7 separate regions of the Homo sapiens genome follow, and regions 1, 2, 3, 5, 6 and 7 are each linked to region 4. Evidence: promoter capture Hi-C in human tissues and cell types (Jung and others, 2019). All regions are on one chromosome and are shown on one strand. Each heading gives the region's core, a stretch centred on a gene start or on the middle of the fragment in contact. The rest is flanking DNA. Distances are from core to core; before and after follow the strand shown.

What was found. Contacts are between HindIII fragments. The study calls those that stand out against the background at their distance.
Region 1: a fragment that was not itself captured here is called in contact with the fragment with the promoter of PCDH10 in region 4 in 1 of the 25 tissues and cell types used here (H1 embryonic stem cells).
Region 2: a fragment that was not itself captured here is called in contact with the fragment with the promoter of PCDH10 in region 4 in 1 of the 25 tissues and cell types used here (mesendoderm cells).
Region 3: a fragment that was not itself captured here is called in contact with the fragment with the promoter of PCDH10 in region 4 in 2 of the 25 tissues and cell types used here (heart left ventricle and mesendoderm cells).
Region 5: a contact is called between a fragment that was not itself captured here and the fragment with the promoter of PCDH10 in region 4, in 2 of the 25 tissues and cell types used here (H1 embryonic stem cells and heart left ventricle).
Region 6: a fragment that was not itself captured here is called in contact with the fragment with the promoter of PCDH10 in region 4 in 1 of the 25 tissues and cell types used here (mesendoderm cells).
Region 7: a contact is called between a fragment that was not itself captured here and the fragment with the promoter of PCDH10 in region 4, in 1 of the 25 tissues and cell types used here (mesendoderm cells).

What each region holds. Positions count from the first base shown.
Region 1 is chr4:133,777,551-133,780,924 of GRCh38, reverse strand. No RefSeq gene overlaps it. Among named protein-coding and RNA genes, the nearest start is that of PABPC4L, 420 kb to the left of the region's middle. The HindIII fragment of the contact is 4,201 bases long and covers 1-3,374 here.
Region 2 is chr4:133,923,684-133,926,919 of GRCh38, reverse strand. No RefSeq gene overlaps it. Among named protein-coding and RNA genes, the nearest start is that of PABPC4L, 280 kb to the left of the region's middle. The HindIII fragment of the contact is 7,204 bases long and covers 1-3,236 here.
Region 3 is chr4:133,849,711-133,852,862 of GRCh38, reverse strand. No RefSeq gene overlaps it. Among named protein-coding and RNA genes, the nearest start is that of PABPC4L, 350 kb to the left of the region's middle. The HindIII fragment of the contact is 7,112 bases long and covers 1-3,152 here.
Region 4 is chr4:133,147,955-133,151,022 of GRCh38, reverse strand. It overlaps PCDH10 (protocadherin 10), which reads right to left and starts at 1,729. Exons shown (of 5, transcript NM_032961.3): 1 at 1-1,729. The coding sequence starts at 882. PCDH10-DT (PCDH10 divergent transcript) reads left to right here and starts at 1,907. Exons shown (of 9, transcript NR_125885.1): 1 at 1,907-1,994. RefSeq lists a silencer at 1,676-1,815 and an enhancer at 1,926-1,985. The HindIII fragment of the contact is 10,822 bases long and covers 1-3,068 here.
Region 5 is chr4:133,795,979-133,799,225 of GRCh38, reverse strand. No RefSeq gene overlaps it. Among named protein-coding and RNA genes, the nearest start is that of PABPC4L, 400 kb to the left of the region's middle. The HindIII fragment of the contact is 3,980 bases long and covers 1-3,247 here.
Region 6 is chr4:134,068,716-134,071,979 of GRCh38, reverse strand. It overlaps a transcript of PABPC4L not described here. Among named protein-coding and RNA genes, the nearest start is that of PABPC4L, 130 kb to the left of the region's middle. RefSeq lists an enhancer at 606-1,294. The HindIII fragment of the contact is 5,712 bases long and covers 1-3,264 here.
Region 7 is chr4:134,129,627-134,132,693 of GRCh38, reverse strand. It overlaps a transcript of PABPC4L not described here. Among named protein-coding and RNA genes, the nearest start is that of PABPC4L, 71 kb to the left of the region's middle. The HindIII fragment of the contact is 6,623 bases long and covers 1-3,067 here.

The sequences.
Region 1 (3,374 bases), core at 116-2,615, 630 kb before region 4:
TTTTAGGTTTAGGGATAAGTGTGAAAGTGGGACAGGGCCTGCTTATATTACTAGAAAATAATTTTCAATTTGGAGGTTATAATGAACTATCATTTTTTATAAAAGTGACCTTTATAAAAAACGAAGAAGCGTGCCTTCTCCTTTAGCAAGAATATTGCATTAATAATTGTCGTCCTGCAATTAGAAGAAGAGTAGGCTTTCAATTCTTATAACTTTTCTCTAAAATGTTGGCACATGAAAAGAAGTGCCCTGGACAGATGGGAAATTAGCATGTCATAAAAATCTATAATAGATGGGCCGTTGCTGTCAATCTTATGAAACTAATTACATCACAATGAATTTTCCTGCAAATTACCATGGACTTACAAGGGAAATATTATGCATATAAGGCAAACAATAGAAATATTTTCTTTCAATATAATTTTTTAATATTTTTAATTATTTGCTAGAATAGAGATGTGTTTATTACTACTGTATGATAATGTGATATAATTTTTTTTCAAGACGAAGATGTGTGTATGAAGGCAAGAGTAACCACTACCCTGCCTAAAGGTCACTCTTTAGTTGATACTTAGCTACCACTTGGGCCAAATGGAAAATCCTTCCTTCCACACTACCACTTCCCTGAAATGTATTCAGTGTCCTGGGTCACTGAAACATGGATAGCCTATATAGGGTGCATTTGGTAAGACAACAAATTATGGATCAAAAGGAGGCATCAGAACTCCTTGGACAATTAGTGGTCAACATGCTTGTTGCCATCAAAGAGAAATCCTTATTAGTTTGCAAAAAGCAGGCAACTAATGTATATTGTTAGCATAGGTTATGTTTGGTACTCACAAGAATGGCAAACAGACTCAGTTCCTGAAGGCATCCCTGATCCTGGGAGTGCATTCTTAGATAAAACTTGTTGATCTCATGCTATTGTCTCTTCTGTCATATTAGTGATGTTCCTCTCTCTCCCCTTTCTCTAGTCTAGCATTTGCCAATCTCAACACTATTGTTATTTTGGATCAGATCATTCTATGTTGTGGAACTGTCCTTTGCATTGTAGATGTTTAACAGCAGCTCTGACCTCCACTAGCCAGATGCCAACATAACCCCCCACTCTCAGTTGTGACAACCAAAAATGACTCCAGACATTGCCAGATGTTCCCTAGCAGGGGGTGGGGGGCGGTTTCTGCAGTTGATATTCATTATCTAGCTCATGGAATTTTTTTCTGTCTGCATGCAATATAAAGATTTTCATCTTATATCTATATTGTATTTGCTTCCAGAGTGACAATAGTCCCCTTGAGGAAATGGTAATTTGGCCTAGCTACCTGAATTTGGGTGAAGAATAGAGCTGTGAGAATTCAAGTGGAAAAATGCAATTAAAACAATGAGTTAATGCTTAAAGCTTCCTGCCCACAATCCACTCATGCTTCCATATGAAAATACTGTGTTCACTACAATTTAAATGTAGAATCCATCGATTGAACTACAAAAATAGATTTGATATACAAAGTCTGTTTTGATACATACTGTTTTTTGAGCACTGCGACCTTTTTAGTAACTAAAACCTTTTTTATAGCTCAGAAGTAAATGATAAGTTACTCAGTCAACTGCAGCCTGAAAGTATTAAATAAAAAATTCCAAAAATAAACAATGTATAAGTTTCAAATCGCATTATCTTCTGAGTAGCGTAATGAAACTCATGCCATCTCTGTTTGTCCCATCCCGGATCTGAATCATCCTTTTGTCCAGCACATCCACACTGTCTACACTACCTGCTCATTAATCTCTTAGCTTTCTTGGTTACCAGATTGATTGTCACAGTATGGCAGTGCCTGTCTTCAAGGAAGCTTTAGTTTACTTAATAATGGCCCGAAAGTGAAAGGGTAATCATGCTGGCAATTCAGATATTCCAAAGAGAAGCCATAAAGTGCTTCCTTTAAGTGAAAAATTGAAAGTTCTTTGATTAATAAGGAAAGAAAAAAATCTTATGCTGAGGTTGTTAAGATCTACAGTAAGAACGAATCTTCTATACAGGAAATCGTGGAAAAGGAAGAAGAAATTTGGGTATAGTATACATATAATTTTGTACTATCCATGGTTTCAGCTGTCCAGTAGGGGCCTTGGCCACAGAGAATGGATGACTACCTTATGCTCAGTGTAATACATACTAGTTAATTAGCAATCTCTTCAATATATTTTTGAAAAAATATAAATGCAACTGTATGTGTTCTGTATGTATTTATGCACATCTTTATACATGTATTTATGTATGCATATATACATATGTCTATATTACATATATAATTTTCAAACATTCAACTTTTTACATTTTAATGACAATAGTGTTAATAAAATCACTAAGATTGAGATGTTCTATTTTGTGTAGAACCACTTCAAATATCATCTGAAATCATATCCACAGTACACCTAACAAAATAGATGTCACAAGATGATGTTATCTGTGCTTATACATCATTACTTATCCAGTATTATTAACTTTATAGTATCTACCTATACCAAAGAATATTTCACTTCTCACTTCTAGATCCTCTGTTAATGTATGTGTCAAATATGTGCTTTGAAGTTCATTAAAAGTAGTTAGAATCCTATTCACTAATCGAGATTACATATGCAACAGTGTCTGTCATGTAAGATGTTCCTCATGCTGATAGTATCTTCAAACATATATATGTATAGTAAATGGACTCAACAGATTTTTAACAAAGAATTTACTATTTATTAAATTTCTTGCAAAATTAAACAAGATAGCTGATATGTATTTATTCTGCAATAATTATAACGAAAAGTATGCATTCACATTCATGTATATTCTATGGGCATAATGTTCTACTTAAAAGAAAACATTTTAAACAGCTTATAATAAATATGACATTTTTTGATATCTTTAACACACGTTGTCTCCACAGAAGTAAAAGGAATTTTATAAAATCATTATGATCACTGCAAGGAAATTCCCACTTCTTATTTAAGTTTGAGCTTCCATATGTCCCTTTTACAGCATCTCAGAGAGTGTTGATGGAGTGAAGCACCATGTTCCTCACTCATTTTCACGTTTCACATTTTCATATTATCTCCCTGCCATTTGAATCACTCTATCTTGGGCTCCCAGGACCTCCTCTTCTCCTCATGTTTTCAAAGGCATATTTAAGGACTTTTTTTTTTTTTTTTTTTTTTTACTACTGAACATATGGGAAAGTTTTTAGTTTGAATTTTCTTGTTCACTCAATATTAACTTCTGAAACTTTAACTTATTGATTTTTTATGAATAGCTTATTTTTATTTTTAATTAATGATAAGTTAAAAAGAAATAAAGCTTTTTCAGGAAACAATTCCTATCTACTAGAGTTAAGAGTAAA
Region 2 (3,236 bases), core at 576-3,075, 780 kb before region 4:
AGGATGAGTGGGTTTGATTCGATCTTCCATGTCCAAGAATGGGTCATGATTGGCACCTCCTCTTGCAAAAGTTGTTGCTTCAAAAGCTGAACCTAAATTGTTCTAAACAAAATCAAGCCCAGATGGTGGTAATTGTTGGAAGATATAAAATTTTCCCTTTTAGACAGTGTGGAAAATGAATGTAAAATCTTAAATAGTGGCATCGATTTCACTACTACAGGAAAAGCCAGCCTGTGGATGAAGTGGCAGAGCTGAGAGTCTTTCAGTTATATTGAGTGGTCACTTGATCTAAATTAATCCAGGCTCTTTAGTTATTTGTGAGATGGAAAAGCCCATCTTGGTGAACCCCATTGGTGTGGATGTGAGGCAAGTACTTACATCTGCTTTTGTCACTTTGAGTTGGGTTTTCTGTAGTTTACAATTGACCACATTTCACCTGATGTAATTAAGATCTGGATGGTGAACAGAGCATTGTCTGTTATGCTTTGTTATGTTTTACATTGTAGATTTGTGAATCTTTAAATTGTTCAGGGAATAATAGAATTTTCAATAAACATTAGCTTTTATTCACATCTGAACAAAACCACAATGATGCAGGATGCTTAATAACTAAGCTAAAAGCTGATGTAAGGGAAATGCAATTCTATAACCTGCAGATTTTGACTTAGTATGTCGTTAAACTCTTTGCAATTTTGCAAGAAAAAAAAAACTCTAAAAGGTAAATGTAAAATCCCTGCTAATTCCAAATGGTCCCAAAAGGTTTTCTATGCAACTCAATGATTTCTGCCTTGTGTAGTTGTTTATCAAAATTTTATAAAATAGTATTTGTATTATGTGAAGCAAAGTACAGTTATTTATTCCTCCCAACCTTGACATCTCAGATACTCTCATTTTAAAAATGTAACCATATTTTCCAGCCCCAATTTATTTCTCACTTTCCTTCATACTTCCACTCATATGACTTAAAGGGAGACTGTCTCATTTGAGCTCACAGCCATATTCTGGAAAAAATCTGATTGTTCAGCAAATATCAGAGATTGCCTTAAGATACAGAGTTTAACAAGAATGTATTCCAATTGTTGTCATTAAAATCAAATTCCTAACATTGGACACTGAAGGAAGACATAGAAGTAACTCTGGAAGTCAGGAAACAACAAAGTAACTATAGGCATAACCTTCTTCCAAAATGTGGGGAATTATTGAAAACTGAGCTATCAAAAAATTCTCTAATATATTTCAGCAAAAATATGTGGCTCAATCTGAATTGAAAAATTAATTCTAGGATTTGTTAGATATGTTAATTGGTTCAAATCAAAATTAACATATGAAAGGAAAGAAAGACACTGAAAATAGACTGTGAATTAAAGCAGCAAAAGAGGTAATAGAAATAAACCTTACATGTGACAGCCTGTCACCTCAATAAAATAAGGTTGTGTGGCAAAAAGGCAGCCATTGCAAAAAAACTATGACACTGATATCCAAGAGCAGCTTCAATGTTGGTCACATAGACACTTTCTTTACAAATATTCATGTCATTAATCTTCTTTCAAAAATCGCTGAGGTATAAATATCAGCTAGACTTGCATTAGCAAAGAATGCAAAAATGAATGTGCCACACTCTTTCTTGCTGTTTCTATTTATACACATTACAGTAAGTAATGCCATATGAGAGAGGCCAGATGTTCTGAATGCTCGCTTTTACCTGTCATATACGTAGAGCTTACAATGTATCTTAAGACATTTAGAAACTCATTTTTCTATACCTATTTTGTCTTGTGTTTGTTTTGTAAAGTCTTTCCTAGAATGGGACCAAAATGAGATTTACATTAGAGTAATCTTGTTTATTTCTATATTATCATATAAGCCATTTGTTACTCATGTAAACACATATTCATACTTATAGACCAAGATAGACAGAGAGCTAATTTTTTATATACAATTAAAAAAATCATGGTATGTAATAGAAAATACAATAAATACATGTTGATATAGTAAAGTTAGAGAAATATCTTTATATTCAAAGCAGTATGCAAAAGGCTAAAGAAGAATATAAAACCCTGCAATGATGCACATTATCTAGGAGTCCAAACAGAAGTAATAAAATGAAATCTTAGTGCTCTTCTTGAGGTGTAAGGAAAACATTATGGAGACAGGTAGGAGGAACTCTGACTTAATAAATGGCAAAACACTTTGTAGAATTTGTTAGGAGAGAAGAGGCAAGTGCAATCCATGTAGAGGAAATAGTATATGGAATGGATCACTAGATGTGCAGGGCATCAAGTAGTTTATTCTGGCAATGATAGAGTTTGCTTAGGTAAGAATAGTAAGGTGATTCTGGACAGGTTTGCTGGACTCAATCATAAAGAGTTTTAAGTCTCCTGGAAAGTCTGAAAAATCAAAATAAGGTAAGACAAAGGTGAAAAGTGCACATCAAACTCTTAATAGCAGTGGTAAAGGTCAAATGATGTAGTGCAGGAAGGTGTCAGAGAAACCATAGGGTATTAGTGTTACTGTAAACAACACTAACATCAAACAACATTTGAAGGGGGTTGTCAATAAGTCTCTGGTAAGGGGATGAGATAGATAGAAATGTGTGAAGAAGGTATTTAGAATTTAATACCCACACGATTGCAATAAGCTACATTTTGGAATCAAGAGACAGAAAGGTACGCTTAGACTATCAAGGTCCTGACTTGAGTGCCTAAAGGATGATGGATGATAGTAAGAAACACTGAATATGAAATACTTTTAAAGGAATTAAAATGAGTTTAGACTTTGGACACATTAATATTGAAATTGTTATGGGACGTTTGTGGTTGTGTCAGGTATTCCGTGAGTAATTTCTGAAATTTGAGGAAGAGATTTGGCTATCATGTAGAGATACTGAAGTTATTGCTATGTAAAAACAGGAAAGACCTTGTCAAAGAAAACTGAAGATTCAGAACTATAACTTATGGAAAGCTTTAGTGATTATAAAGCTAAATTTAGAGACTATGTAATTATTATAAAACTAAATTTAGAGACTATGTAAAGATAGAGCATATAATGTCTGTTATAGAGACATCTCATGTAGTGAAACGACATTTAATCAAGGAGAGAGAAAAGAAAGAAAGATATAGGAGGTTATGAGTTAAATAACTACTGAAATATTTTAGATTTGGTCCACCTTTAGATAACATAGTTGATGACTAAGTTAACATTTTATTTCTATTGTGTGACCTTATCTTAAAATACCC
Region 3 (3,152 bases), core at 27-2,526, 700 kb before region 4:
ATATCAAATCATATCATACCCAGCTCAGTTTACCTTCAAGTGTAAAGCACACAAATAATAATGAATATTAGAGCAAACAAGCAGAAAAACAAAACCCTGGAGTACAATTCTTGAATGCTTTTTGAGGAACCTATTAAAGTATAAACCTTGTATAACCAAAAAATAATTGGAGAGACTATGATGAGGTATCTGTTGCTTAGTATTGCATGCATATATACTAAGACATCTTATGAAAATAAAGGTTAGTTATCCTGACTAGTATAGTAATTCCTTTCTTTACCTATTCATTAACAGCACAAGAAGCTCAAAGTGATCAGATAATCATCATAGTTTCAGGTTTAGCAGACACAATTCTGAGCTCACTAGAAGAAGTGTCATTACTCCTGAAAATCAAGATCCCTAATCCAGCAGAATTTGAACTTGTGGCGACAGGAAGCCGACCTTTTGAAACTGGGTTAAGAAATGATGGTGAGAGGGGGTCACTCCTATCACCACCGTATCAGTCCATTCTCACACGGCTATAAAGATACTACCTGAGACTGGGTAGTTTATAAAGGAAAGAGGTTTAATTAACTCACAGATAAGCATGGCTCCGGAGGCCTCAGGAAACTTACAATCATAGCAGAAGGTGAAGGGGAAGCAAGGTAACTTCTTCACAGGGCGGCAGGAAGGAGAATGAATGCAGAAGGAACTACCACACACTTATAAAACCATCAGATCTTGTGAGAATTCACTCACTACCATGAGAACAGTATGATAAGGGAACCACCTCATGATTCAATTACCTCCACCTAGTCTCTGCCTTGACATGTGGGGATTATGGGTATATGGGGAATTATAATTCAAGATGAGATTTTGATTTTTGTGGGGACACAATCAAACCATATCAACCGCCCACTATTTCCTAAACCCTTGTATTCTAGCCATTGAGGACAGAGCGTTAAAGTATAGAACCAAGTTGACTGCAAGTCTCTGTCCAGAAAGAAAATTTTCTCTAACTGACATCTATCAGACTATCCCTGATTAGAGCTATACTGCAGTGGCTTTTGATTTGGGGCTATCATAATTAAACAAACCAAGAAGTAAATCTCATTGTTTATTTTTTTTTTCCTTTCCTTTTGTTTTTTTTTTTTTCCTTCATGGGAAATCACACATGAGAAAATGTGTGCAAATGAAGCATCAATACAACAGAGGTAAGCACGTGAGTTAGACTACTTGTTTAATTATGTAGCTTACTTGTTCCTACTGGACACGCTTTGGCCTGATCATAAGCATATAATGGTGTCATGGAGAAAAAATATTTTTACCTTACCCATCTTAGATTCTTCAGCTGGTACTTTGTAAATCAGATTAACAAAAGGCAAATTAAGAAGAGAAAAACAGTTTATTAATGTGTGCAGTACACATTACACCGGAGGAACCTCCATGCTGAGTTACTCAAAGGGTTGATTAGAACTTGTGTTTATACAGTATCTTAACAAAAGAACAATACATTTTTAAAGAAGCTACAAGACAAAGGAAAAGTGTTTTATGCTTTCAAAGATGGCAAATGGTAGGAAGGCAAATGTTACATATGTGGGGAAAGTAATGGAAGATAAGTGTTGTTTATTCAGGTTGCTTTCGTGCTCACTTTCTATTTCCTTCATTGCCATAAAGCTTTCTTTGGAGTAGAAATTTTGATAGTTCTAATTTTTCAGAGGTTTCTGCTTTCATTCAAATAGAAGAAGCTCCAACAAGGCTTCCTTCTGCATCTGTTATTTCTGATTTATCTTTAGTTCAAAATTATTTTTATGCCAAGGTGGCGTATTTTGAGGTGGCATATTTTGACCCCCTGCACATGCATATTATAAGATGAATTTCTACTTTGCCTGGCTAATGTTTTAACAATACACAGCTCTTCTATTTGTTCAGAATCCCATGGCCTGGGGCTCAACCTCTATTATGGCCAAGTAGCTGATCAAGAACTTTTTCTCCAAAAGCAAGGAGTTCCCTCCTTGCTCTGGAATTCCAGTAATCTACAACTCTCCAACTGGTGGTCCCAGAGACCCACACAGCATCTCTTACCAACCGTGAATAGTCTGTTACCAATCCATCTGCTGAATCATATAGCCAAAGCTTCATGGTAGGTTACAACACACTTTACAGCCTTAATTTGCTGGAGGCCTTTCTCTCTCTGGGTCTAAATAGAAATTAGTAGCCTCATGAATAATGGCATGAATTAGTATTACTCAAAGCTGTATATGAATACTTCAAGTCAAAATAACTCAGCAAGCACTAGACCTCTCATTTTATTAAAGGTGCAAGTTTCAGCAACTTATTTTTTTAAATCATACACAGGATGTCCCAGCATGGGTCAGATTATGAAATTCCTAAGGTTTTGCCGAGGTAACAGATTTCTGAATGCTCAAAGTTTATGTCTTGCCCTTCTTCCAAAATAGCTAGAGTAGCTTTGAGATTTCTGACTACCAAGTCAATTAGCCTAATAGTGCCACCATAGCAGACTAGCATGATGTTCTGCAGAATATACATGCATAAAAAAAACTAAGTCCAGGCTCAGCGGCTCATGCCATTAATCCCAGCACTTTGGGAGGCCAAGACAGGCAGATCGCTTGAGCTAGGGAGATTGAGACCAGCCTGTGCAACATGGTGAAACCCTGTCTCTACAAAAAATACAAAAAATTAGCCGGGCATGGTGGTGAACACCTGTAGTTCCAGGTACTCGGCAGGCTGAGATGGGAGGATCACCTGAGCCCAGGGAGGTTGAGGCTGCAGTGAGAGTGAGCCATGATTGTGTCACTGCACTTCAACCTGGGTAACAGAGTGAGACCCTGCCTCAAAGAAAAAATAAAAATAAAAAAAGAAAGAAAAAGAAAAAAATTGAGATCCCTGTAGGCTATCATGTAACAGAGAACAGGAAAGTTAACATAACTTTAAGCAAGAAAGTATATATGTACTTCTGTTTTATAATTATATTTCTTGCTTTGTCTAAACATTTTTTACTCCTAAATCATTTTAAATAATAAGTACATATCATATTTTAATTTCCACTTACACTAGTCACCTCTTTTTTCACAGTTTTCTCCTCTGACTCTGGAATTTTATTGTCCACATTTTTAAATTCTTCCTTTGCCTACTCTTTTTCAGAATTTATC
Region 4 (3,068 bases), core at 480-2,979:
CGAAATGTGGCTGCTGAAGGAGTACACGACCTCACCGTTCTGGCCCTCGTCCGGGTCGGTGGCGTTGAGCTGGATCACGAGAGTGCCTGGGGGAGAGTTCTCTGGTAGGGACACAGTGTAGACGGGTTGGTCGAAAGCGGGCACATTGTCATTGGAGTCCAGCACTCGGATGGTGAGTAGGGCCGTGCCGGTGCGCTGCTGCTGGGGGGGCAGGCCTGCTCCCCCGCCACCTCCCCCTCCTTCTCCTACTCCTCCCCCACCTCCTCCGTCCACCGCGGTCAGCACGTAGCGGTGCACCGCTTGCTGCTCTCGGTCCAGTGGCTTCTCCAGCACCAGCTCAGCGAATCGGTTGCCATCCCCCTGGGTCTGCACGTCCAGGGAGAAGTAGCTGTTGGGGGTGATCTCGTAGTCGCGCAAGGAGTTGGTGCCCACGTCTGGGTCGAATGCGCTCTCCAAGGGGAAGCGAGTGCCTGGCGTGGCGCTCTCAGAGATTTCCACCGTCAGGTCTGGCTCCGGGAAAGAGGGGGGGTTGTCATTAATGTCCAGCACCTCGATCTCCACCTGGAACAGCTCCAGGGGGTTCTCCAGAAAGACCTCCAGGTGCAGGACACAGGAGGGGCTCTGTTTGCAGATTTGTTCGCGGTCTATTTTCTCGTTCACGTACAGCACCCCTGTCTCCAGGTTGAGGTCTAAGTAAGGGGTCCTTGAGTTGGGCACCGTCTGAAACCCGCGAGCCGAAAGTTTTGTAATGTCCAGACCCAGATCTTCAGCGATATTCCCCACGAAAGTGCCATGTTCCTGCTCCTCCTGTACCGTGTAGTGAAGCTGGGAAAAGACTCCTTCCACCATCCAGAGCAAGGCAAACAATAATAGCACAATCATCTCCAAAAGGAAAGGAAGTAGCTTCCCGCAGCCAGTCAGCCACCCAATCACCTCCCCCACCACCACGAAACAAAAAAAAATCTGAAAAAATACAAATAAAAGTGCGCTACGTGGGGGCTCCTGTGGCTTTCTGTCTTTAAAAATCTTACTCCTTTTGCTTCATTTTAGAGCTTCCCGCAATCCAGCCTCATTTTTTTTTAAATCTTAGCACAGGAAGGGTGACAGGCGTCCCCTTTCCTCATCTGTAATCTTTCCACTGACTAATTAATAAAATAACAATAATACAATAGTCAGCGTCCTTTATTCCGACAGTCTTGGCGCTGGCAAATCCCAAAGAGGAAATTTCGATATTTCAAGACTGTCCTCGGTTTGTCTTCTTGCTGATGGGAGGAGAACGAGGAGGAGGAAAAAGAGGAGGAGGAGGAGGAAGAAGAAGAAGAGGAAGAGGAGAAGGAAAAGGAGATGCTGTTGGCACCGTTAAACATGCCTCTTAATGTCAACGGCTGGCAAATGCAAAAGGGCTTAAAATCAGCGATATAATTTTGTGCCGGAAAAGCACAGAACGGCTCTGCAGCTTAAAACTTTCATTCTCTTCATTTCTCCGGATGGATGTTCTTCTTGACATTTTTTTCCTCTTTCGCTCTATTTGTATTTTTTGTCTTTCAGAGTCTTGGTTCCCTCTGTCCTCATCTCCACCGTTACTTGCCTCTCTGTAAGTGTAATGAGCAGTTTCTTTTCTGCTGTTTTCTTCCCAAGCCTCTTTCCCTCTAACCTGTCTCTTTTTCCTTCCAGTCCTTCCTTCCTCCTGCTTCAGCCTCTGAGCCTGTGGTCTGGGCTGGCAGTTTCTGAGCTCCGAGCGCTCGGCTTCTCCGTTTTTGCGCAGCGCCCTCATTCTGCCAACCAATCGCCCAGGAGCACCACCCACCGAGCTGCCGATGATTGGCCAAACTGGCCGCCAAACAGACACGTCACGCGGCAGCCGGGCGGGGCGGGACAGAACTCTCGCCCGAGCGGCCGGGGTGAGTGTGAGTGTGAGAGCGAGAACAGCCCCGCAGGTCCCGAGGCGCTGGCTGGGGACAATGCCGCGGAAAGTTCCCAGTCCCCAGCCGCAGGTAATGGGGAGGGAATAGAGAGGTTCCCCTGTTTGCATCAGCAAATGCGAAAACATAATAGCAACAGCTGCGATATCCTCTCCTAGGAGCGGGATTTCCAATGATGCTAACATTCTTTTTCCTTTAAGGTATTTTCCCTAATACGCATCATGGAAATAAATCATCGAGAAGGGAAAAAGTAGCGCAGGGCCCACTAATTGGCAAGGGTTACCTAATTAAGGGACCCTAGCAGAGACTGGCAGGGCATTTTAAAAGTGAGTATTATATGGCATGTGTCAATCTAAAGGTGAGGGGGTCTGACGGGGCCGTGAGGAAAGGCGCGAAGCATACGGAGTAGGGGGTGGAGGTGACTCCTAAAAAGCGGAGGAATTCACGCTAAAGGATGTGGGGATGACAGCGCTTACAGACGGGCAGACGCGTTCGACGTGCTTCTTTCCTCCCAAAATACATATTCACAAAATACTTACCAAGTAGATTAACTCACTCGAGGACCTAGCTTCGAGCCGTGAGCGCGTTCATCAGTGACTGAGGAGTTGATTTGAGCCGCTTCCTACAAGCCCGCCATCCTAACGCCGGGCTCTGGGGCATCCGGCACACAGCACCGCCAAGCGCTGCAAAGCGCCTCTGATATCCCTGCGCCTTGTGCGGCCAAGTGCCACGCAGCGGCTGGGAACACCGGCTATTTTCTATTTTTTTTTTGGCAATTGGAGATCGATCCCTTTACCCACCATGCTAGATTAGACCACTGATTTCTGCCAATCCTGGGGTCAGCCCGCGGGATGAGGACAGTGGGGCGGCGGCGAACGCGGGCGGGGTGGTGGGCAGGGCCCGTGCACACGAGGGGCCCGAGTGTGCACCGCTGCGGGTATCTGCGAACACGTTTGCACATGCACGGTACTTGCATCCATCCTCCCTGGCCCAGGGCTTAGCTCTGTGTAAGCCCCAACGGAGCCTCCCCGAGTTCCGAAGGACGCGCTTGACCAGCTGTGAGTGCCCCTTCCGGAGGCGCAGGGGCAACGCGGCACATCCACATAGCTAGTTCTTGTGAAGTTAAAACACAGCGCGAACTCTTTA
Region 5 (3,247 bases), core at 41-2,540, 650 kb before region 4:
GTAGAGGAGAATTCTAATCTTAGTTACATGACTTAATATCAAATATATTTGGAAGAATTTCATTTCTTCATATGAAACAATATGATTTCAATTATTGATTGATCTATGATTAATCTATACGGCTAACATTAGTCTTTCTCATTTGACTGAAGCTTCATGAGAGATTGAATCATGTTAACTTTGTTCTTCATTTTTGTGCTCAGTGTTTTAAACAGTATTTAGCATATAATGAACATTATTTATGAAATAAAAAAATTATTCGTTGAGGAAAAGGTACACATACATTTGTCAGTATTTTGAATCACTTCCCCTTTGTGTGAGACTTGGGAGAAAGAGTTCTAAGTAATACAATATTCCGTACTGCCTCATTCTATACCCTTCCTACATTTGTATCTATTATTCAACCTCTCTTAACTTTTTTTACTATCCTTAGAAAGTTGATATGTAGATCTCTTTATCAGAGTGCTTTAAATAATCAATAAGAGTAATGGATTGGATTTGAAAACAAGATGTATTCCAAATCTCATTCATTTATACACTTTGTTAAACAGACTTATTATATTGATGGTTCTCAATGAATATATTTTAATAACTAAATTAAGAATACATAGCATAATTCTGGAATGTGGTTAGAAACCCATTTGTCCAAAGTATAAAACTAGGCATTAGTTTTAAAATATATGAGACAGAGTGGGCCAAATATAACTGCAACTATATTATTAGCACACAATACACATATTCTAACTAATGATCTTGGTCAAAATGCACAGCAGTAAGTCTGTACCAGACCAAAAGACTTGTGTATTGAGGAATGAATCAATGGAAGGAATAAAAGATTGTTATAGTTTAAATACAGCACTTAAAAAACTTAATTTGTTCTAATTTATCTGAATTAAGTACTAAATATTGAGTTATCATATCAATAATGGAATCAGTTAAAATATGTTTAGTAGCAAATATTAGAGAACTTACCTTCAGAGGACACTTATGCTTTATATATTAAGGAATTCTCAGGATTGATTTAGCAATTTAGTATCTTCAAGATTTCAGTTCCTTCACTTCTAATCTTTCAACTTCAGCCTGGTGGCAATATCACCTTTCAAGGTTATGAAATGGCTGCTACAGTTTCAAACATTACATTATCATTCTTCAGCATTCTCAAAACAAAGAAACAAAGGTTGAAGGGAAGAACGGGGAAGGGAGCTAGAGAAAAAAAAGGCTTTCTCCTGGCCTCAACTTTGCATTTCATCAGAAAAGAAATAGTTTCCCTTTAAGTTGGGGTATTGGCTATGCAACCTCTATCCTAAAAGAAGTTATATTGGCTTAAGCATTAAACAATTAAAATAATTGTAACTCTTTAAAAACACTAATACAGGCTGCCTTTCCAAACCAGTTACTTCAAAATCTCCAGGGTATCAGGATGTCACAAAACTTCCTCAGGTGACTGTAATGTGCACCTCAGTTTGACATCCACCAGTTAAACCTGATTGTCATTCATCCCCTTCATCAAGGCAGTTTTTATCTGAATGAAATGGAGATTCTATAAGCAAGGAAGAAAAAAGAATAATAAAGCCAAATAAGAATACCATACAGAAACCTCATATAAAGTGGATCCACAATCTCTCACCTGATTTAATTGCTCCTGCAGGAAATAGAACACTAAAAAGGCCTTTACTCCAATGATAACATATCCAAGCCATTCCCAAAACATCCTAAGAAATAAAGCTTGAAATAGACTAAACTTCATGAAGACCTGAGCTAGCATCATGAGTAGGGATTATGAGTACTATGAATTACAAAGATTGTGTAGTTGTTTCTAAGTGTGGGCATGTGTTTTATGATTACAAGGGGGAAAAGGGCATATCTAAATGAGGATAATTTTTTTTTCATTTAAATTTCCCACGACTGACAGCAAAAGCAAAATGTCTGTCTATTTTTAACAGTGTTAAATAAAATATTGTGCTGAAAATCTTAATTTCTAATTTAAGATCTACCTTTCTGTCACAGCCAGATTTACTTTATTCTCATAAATGAATGGTGACTTAAATGTAAACAGAAATGATGATATAATTACAGTAATTCCAAATCTATACAATGTATGACATAAAATTATATTTGATGTTTCCATATTCATTACTTTGCAAAAATATTTGTTTCTATCCATAAATTTGTATGTGATTTGGTGATGATTGCAGCAAATACTTGCTTTAGCTTTGAAGAATGTATTTTGGCTTATTCACATGCGGAAAATTGGTACCACATACAAAATGATGGATATGATCTGTTACTGGAGTTAAATGTAGGTTAATGGAGAAATGATGAGAAAATGAAGCAGAGGGCTCAATAAAGCTAAAAAAGAAGAGAGAAAAGAAAAATAAGGGAATTAAAATGTTGCTGGCCAGCTGGCACTTGTACAAATGAATGCAGTGAACTATATGGTGTGCAAACATATTCCAAGTGGGTTGTAACAATTCTTGATGCTAGTCATAGAAAGGATAAAATTAGAATAAATAACAAATCAAATAAGTTAAAATGAAAGTCTTTCATTAACAATGTGCTAGTTTTAGAATATTACATAAATATAAAGTTCAAAAAGTTTTAAATAAAATCCCATTATGGAAAAAGAAAACTCAGAAATGTCAGAAATAATTACAGATGAATTTTTAATGTATGCAAATACATATTTTTCTGTATTAGTGACAGGTGCACTGTTATTTTTTAATGGAGTAAAACATTTCTTATTAGAACTTGTCAGGTGCTCCCAGCTGACAAATATGCTTAAGGAACATGTTTCAGCACAGCATACTCAGTAAGGTTCTGTGCTCACATTTTCATTTTAATCCATTCTTAAGTCAAACAAATCTGAAAATATTCACCTGAAAAATTAATAAAGTCGCATGCAGAAGACAATAGCTTTCAAGTAGTCCTTCATGTGCTTTTTAAAAAACAAGTGAGAAAGCATTACAGTATTAAAAATACAACATGTCTGTGGTGTTATATACACATTATGGCTTCTATTAATGTGGTTCATCTGTTTCAAAGTCTGTACAGCAAATTGCTTAGTATCACTTGACCTGTGAATAAATGCTTACATGACATAGTTAGTTTCGTTACTTGAAATATTTAACCCTGCTATTTCAAACAAATACTAAATAGAAAAGGTAGAACCATCTCTTAGAAATTAAAAAAAACTTTCTGTTTAAACATATGATATCAAATATATAAACTACGGGAATAAGAGAATGAA
Region 6 (3,264 bases), core at 719-3,218, 920 kb before region 4:
CACCCATTTGTCCATTCAACATTCTTATCTATACAACTAAAACCTAAAGTCTAAAGGAACCCCTCTTTCCACTTTTTCTATACTCCTGTCTGGATTGCTGAGGATTACTAAAGACAAACAGGCAACTATAAAGTTATCTTCATTATTCTTAACAGGGATCATTAAATGCTTAGAATTTCTACAAGATTTTTCTAAATTGTTTCACTTCCTGGTTCTCTAAACTGAGTATTTTAAATTATTTACTGTATTAAAATGTCTAACCCAATCACCTTGCCCATATTTTTTGTGCATTACTGTGTTTCTTAATTTACAGAGAAAACAACAGTCTCCTTTTTCAAACTACCTCAGCCTCATGCCTAAAGTCACTCCCCACTATTTCATTTAAATTATCTTCAATATTGTTATAACAGTTTGCCTCAAAAGGCATAGGGTGGTGTGAGAGGTACAATGATCACTCATAGAAATCTATTAGTAGAGGAATGAAAACACCAAAGAATTTTAATAACTTGTGTTTGGATATTGATCAAAGTTCTCAATCGGTTCTAGGGCCAATTAGCATAACTTGTCAAAACAAGTGTTTCAGTGATTCAAGATGTCTGATAAGATGCAGCTAGAAGGAACATCTACCACCAAGAGACTGGTACATAAGGAAGACTGGCACACTCAGAGTGTATCTTCAGAGGAAGGCACTGAGAGTGGACAGAGGGAGGACACAGATGATGGGCAGAATGAGGAGGAAGCTGGGAACCCTGCATGGCACTACTGCACACAGGGACTTTCCTGACTCCCACTGACTCCTCAGGAAGCCATGAGCTGAACAGGAGTTGAGCAACGTGCTCTTGCCATGGACCTCCAGAATCCTGGCAGCAGGAGACCTTATGACCTCCACAAACACTTCAGCTATCAGGGAGAACTGCTTAGAGAGGTGGCAGGAACAGTACTCCAGCCTGTCTGAAGCCCTCAGGGTTTGGTATGGGAACATCTGCAGTGGAGCATGTCCAGTAATGCCCATTTCCCAAGGCTCGCCATGCTCCTCTAGGAGACTTTAGCCATATGGAGAATGTCGGACCTGGAGAGAGCAGAGTAGTCTTGTCCATGAGACAAGGCCAGTCTGATCTGTGTTCTCTCTTTTCTGCTGGCCTCCCCTGGGGCACAAGTCTGGCCACCTTGTTGCAGTGAAGCTGCAGCTGCCCAACTGGGATGCTACCCTGGGGCCCTCATGGTAGCTCTTTTGCCAGCAGACTGCACCTGACCATGGGAGAGCTCTAAGTGACCTCCACCAACATGTACCAGTTCACCTGCACATTTTGCTGGCCCACAGTGACCCACAGCCACACCCCCACTGCTTTGCCAGTGTCTGGGTGGGCAGACCACACCTCCCCTCCTCCAGCGGCATGTGAGTGCATGCACACCCACTGGGACACTGCAGCTGGCATGAGCGTACCTCACCCTCCACCCCACTATGCCACCATTGCTGTTGCACTGACAACCCCATGCCCCGCTGTGCCATCACCACAACTGCCTTAATCTGACACAAGGAGGCCAACAGCCTTGCACAGGCCAGTTCACCACCCCTGCTGCTGGTATGAAGGCCTGCAAAAATGTGTCAGCCCAGCCCCCACTGCTACCTCACCACAGCCGATGCACATGCACCCCACCACACTGCCGCTGCTGCTGGCACTTGTGAACAAGCTTGAATCCTGCTGCCACTGTCTTAAAGAACCACTCTGGCTGGCACCACTCATCAGAGTGCTGTGGTCAGTGGTACGGGAGCACCTAGGCCCCACCAATGCAGCACGTTCCTAAGCTCACAAGGGTCCAGAAAACAAAGCTGGGGACCAACATGAAACCACACAGCACACATTCCTGGAGGGCTGAGCTGAGCCTTGGCCCCCTAAAAATGTCTGGAAATGTAGCATAAATCCATCTTATGCAAAAATCAAACCCCCAAGGGCATCAAAGAAAATAAAAGCCAAAAAAAAAAAAAAAAACCCTCCAAAGGACAGCAACTTCAAGGACCAAAGGAACATCAGACCACACAGATGAGAAAAAACTAATGCTAGAACTCTGGCCACTCAAAAACCAGAATGTCTTATTCCCTCCATATAACTGAACTATTTCCCCAGCAATGGCTCATATCCAGGCTGAAATGGCTGAAATGACAGAAATAGAACTCAGAATATGGACAGAAATAAAGATTATTGATATTCAGGAGAAAGCCAAATCCCAACGCAAGGATTTTAAGGAATGTAATAAAATAATACAGGATACGAAAGATGAAATGGTCATTTTAAGAAAGAACCAAACTGATTTGATAGAGTTGAAAAACTCACTTCAAAAATTTCAGAATACTATCACAAGTATTAACAGCAGAATTGACCAAGCTGAGGAAAGAATCTCAGAGCTTAAAGACCAGTTCTTCAAAATAACTCAGTCAGAAAAAATAAAGAAAAATGATTAAATAAGAACAAATACTCTCCAAAAATATGGGATTATGTAAAGAGACAAAATATGTGTGTCATTGATGTCCCTGAAAGAGAGGGAGACAAAGCAAGCAACTTAAAAAATATTTCAGGATATTGTCCATGAAAATTTCCCCAGCCTTGCTAAAGAGATCAACATTCAAGTTCAAAAAATGCAGAGAACCCCTCTGAGATACTATACAACATGATCATACCTAAAGCACATAGTCATCATATTCTCCAACACCAAAATGAAAGAAAAAATGTTAAAATAAGCTAGAGAGAAGGGGCATGTTACCTATAGAGGGAAACTTAACAGGGTAACAGCAGACCTTTCAGCAGAAACCCTACAAGCCAGAAGAGATTGGGGACATACATTCCTAAAGAAAAGAAATTCCAACCAAGAATTTAATATACAGCCAAATGAAGCTTCATAAGCGAAGGAGAGATAGGATCCTAGTCCAGATAAGCAAATGCTAAGGGAACTTGTTACCCTAAGACCTATCATGGCTGGGTGCAGTGGCTCACACCTGTAATCCCAGCACTTTGGGAGTCCCAGGTGGTTGGATCACCTGAGGTCAGGAGTTCGAGACCAGCCTGGCCAAAATGGTGAAACCTCGTCTCTATTAAAAATACAAAAAGGTAGCCAGGAGTGGTGGTGCATCCCTGTAGTCCCAGCTACTTGGGAGGCTGAGGCAGGAGAATCACTTGAACCCAGGAGGTGGAGGTTGCAGTGAGACGAGACTGCACCACTGCACTCCAGCCTGGGCAACAGAGCGAGACCCTGTCAAAAAAAAAAAAA
Region 7 (3,067 bases), core at 457-2,956, 980 kb before region 4:
CTGGATCAACTGGTAGATCTACTTTTAATTCTTTAAAGAATTTACGCACTTTTCCATAGTGGTTGTACTAGTTTACATTCCCACCAGTAGGGTTAAACTGTTCTCTTTTTACCACATCTAGTCCAACATCGATTTTTTTTTATTCTCTTATTATTGCCATTCTTGCCAGTGTGAGGTGGTATTGCATTATGGTTTTGGGTGCATTTCTCTGCTCATTGGTGATGTTGAGCATTTTTTCATATGTTTATTTGCCATTTGTTCATCTTCTTTTGAAAATTTTCTATTCATGCCTTTAGCTCACTTTTTGATGAGATTGTTTGTTTTGTTCTTGCTCATTTGTTTGAGTTCCTTGTAGATTCTGGATATTAATCTTTTGTTGGATATCCAGACCGCAAAGATTTTCTCCCACTGTGGGTTGTCTGTTTACTCTGTTGATTGTTTCTTTTGTTGTGTAGAATCTTTTGAGGTTAATTTATTCCATCTATTTATTTTTGTTTCTGTTTAATTTGCTTTTGGGTTCTTGGTCATAAAGTCATTGCCTATGCCAATGTCTAGAAGGGTTTTTTCTGATATTATCTTCTAGAATTTTTATGGGTTCAGATCTTATGTTTAAGTCCTTAATTTATCTTGAGCTTATTTTTGTACAAGGTGAGAGATTAGGACACAATTTCTTTCTTCTACATGTGGCTTGCCAATTATCCCAGCACCATTTGATGAACAGAATGTCCATTCCCCAATTTGTTTTTGTTTGCTTTGTTGAAGATGAGTTAGCTGTAGGTATTTGAGTTTATTTCTGGTTTCCTTAATCTGTTCCATTGTTATATGTGCCTATTTGTACAACAGTATTATGCTGTTTTGGTGACTATAACCTTACAGTAAAGTGTGAAGTTGAGTAATATAATGCCTCCAGAATTGTTCTTTTTTCTTAGTCTTGCTTTGGCTATGGAGGCTTTTTTTTTTTTTTTTTTTTTTTTTTTTTGGTTTCACAGGAATTTTAGGATAGTTTTTTCTAGCGCTGTGAAGAATGATGGTGGTATTTTGATGCAAATTGCATCAAATTTATAGATTGCTTTTGGCAATATTGTCATTTTCACAATATTGATTCTACCCATCCATGAGCATGGAATGTGTTTCATTTGTTTGTGCTGTTATTTCTCTCAGCAGTGTTTTGTAGTTGTCCCTGTAGAGGTCTTTCACCTCCTTGGTTAAGTATATTCCTAAGTATTTTATTTTAATTTTTTTGCAGGTATTGTAAAAGGGATCGAGTTCTTCATTTGATTCTCAGCTTGGTTGCTGTTGCTTTATAGTAGGGCTACTAATTTGGGTACATTAATTTTGTTTCCTGAAGCTCTGCTGAACTCACTTACTATATCTAGGAGATTTTTGGATGAGTCTTCAGGATTTCCTAGGTATATGATCATGTCATCAGCAAACAGCAACAGGTTGACTTCCTCTTCATTGATTTGGATGCCCTTTACTTTTATTTTTCCTGTCTGATTGCCCTGGTTAAGACTTCCAGTACTGTTCTGAATGCAAGTGGTGGAAGTTTGCATCCTTGTCTTGTGCCAGTTCTCAGGGGGGATGCTTTCAACTTTTCCCTATTCTACATAATGTTGGCTGTGGGTTTGTCATAGATAGCTTTTATTACCTTAAGGTATGTCCCTTCTATGTTGATTTTGCTGTGAGTTTTAATCATAAAGGGATGATGTATTTTGTGAAATTCTTTTTCTGTATCTATTGAGATGCTCGTGTGATTTTTGTTTTTAATTCTATTTATGTGGTGTGTCACATTTATTTACTTTTGTATGTTAAACCGTCCCTGCATTTCTGGTATGAAACCCACTGGATCATGGTGGATTATCTTTTTGATATGCTGTTGGATATTCTTTTTGATATGCTGTTGGATTCAGTTAGCTAGTATTTGGTTGAGAATTTTTGCATCTATGTTCATAAGGGATATTGGCCTATAGTTTTTTTTATGTCCTTTTCTGGTTTTGGTATTAGGGTGATACTTCATAGAATGATTTAGGAAGGATTCTTTATTTCTCTATGTTTTGTAATAGTGTCAATAGGATTGGTACCAATTATTTGAATATCTGATAGAATTCAGCTATGAATCTCTCTGGGCCTGGCCTTTTTTTTTACTTGGCAAATTTTTAATTACCATTTCAATCTTGCACTTGTTATTTGTCTGCTCAGAGTTTCTATTTCTTCCTGGTTTAAACTAGGAGGGTGATATATTTCCAGGAATTTGTCCCTCTTCTGTATGTTTGCTAGTTTATCTGCATAAAGGCATTCATAATAGCCTTGAATGATCTTTTGTATTTCTGTGGAATCAGTTGTAGTGTCTCCCATTTTATTTTAATTGAGCTTATTTGGATCTTCATTCTTCTTTTTTTGGTTAATCTCATGAATGATCTATCAATTTTAATTAATTTTTCAAAGAATCAGGTTTTTGTTTCATTTATCTTTTATTTGTTTTAATTTCATTTAGTTCTGCTCTGATCCTGGTTATTTCTTTTCTTCTGCTAGGTTTTGGTTTTGTTTGTTTTTGTTTCTCTAGTTTCTTGATGTGTGACCTTAGATTAACTATTTGTCCTCTTTCAAAGTTGTTTTTTTTTTTTTTTTTTAAACAGAGTCTCGCTCTGTCACCCAGGCTGGAGTGCAATGGTGTGATCTTGCCTCACTGCAACCTCCACCTTCTGGGTTCAAGCGATTCTCCTGCCTCAGCCTCCTGACTAGCTAGGATTACAGGTGCACACCACCACGCCTGGCTAATTGTATTTTTAGTAGAGACGAAGTTTCACCATGTTGGTCAGGCTGGTCTCAAACTCCTGACCTCGTGATTTCCCCCGCCTTGGCCTCCCAAAGTGCTGAGATTACAGGTGTGAGCCACTGCATCCAGCCTCAAAGTTTTTGATGTAGGCATTTAATCCTATGAACTTTCCTCTTAGCACCACTTTTGCTGTATCCCAGAGGTTTTGATAGGTTTTGTCACTATTATCATTCAGTTTAATTATAATTATCATTCAGTTTAAATTTAAAAATTTAAATTTAATTAAACTTA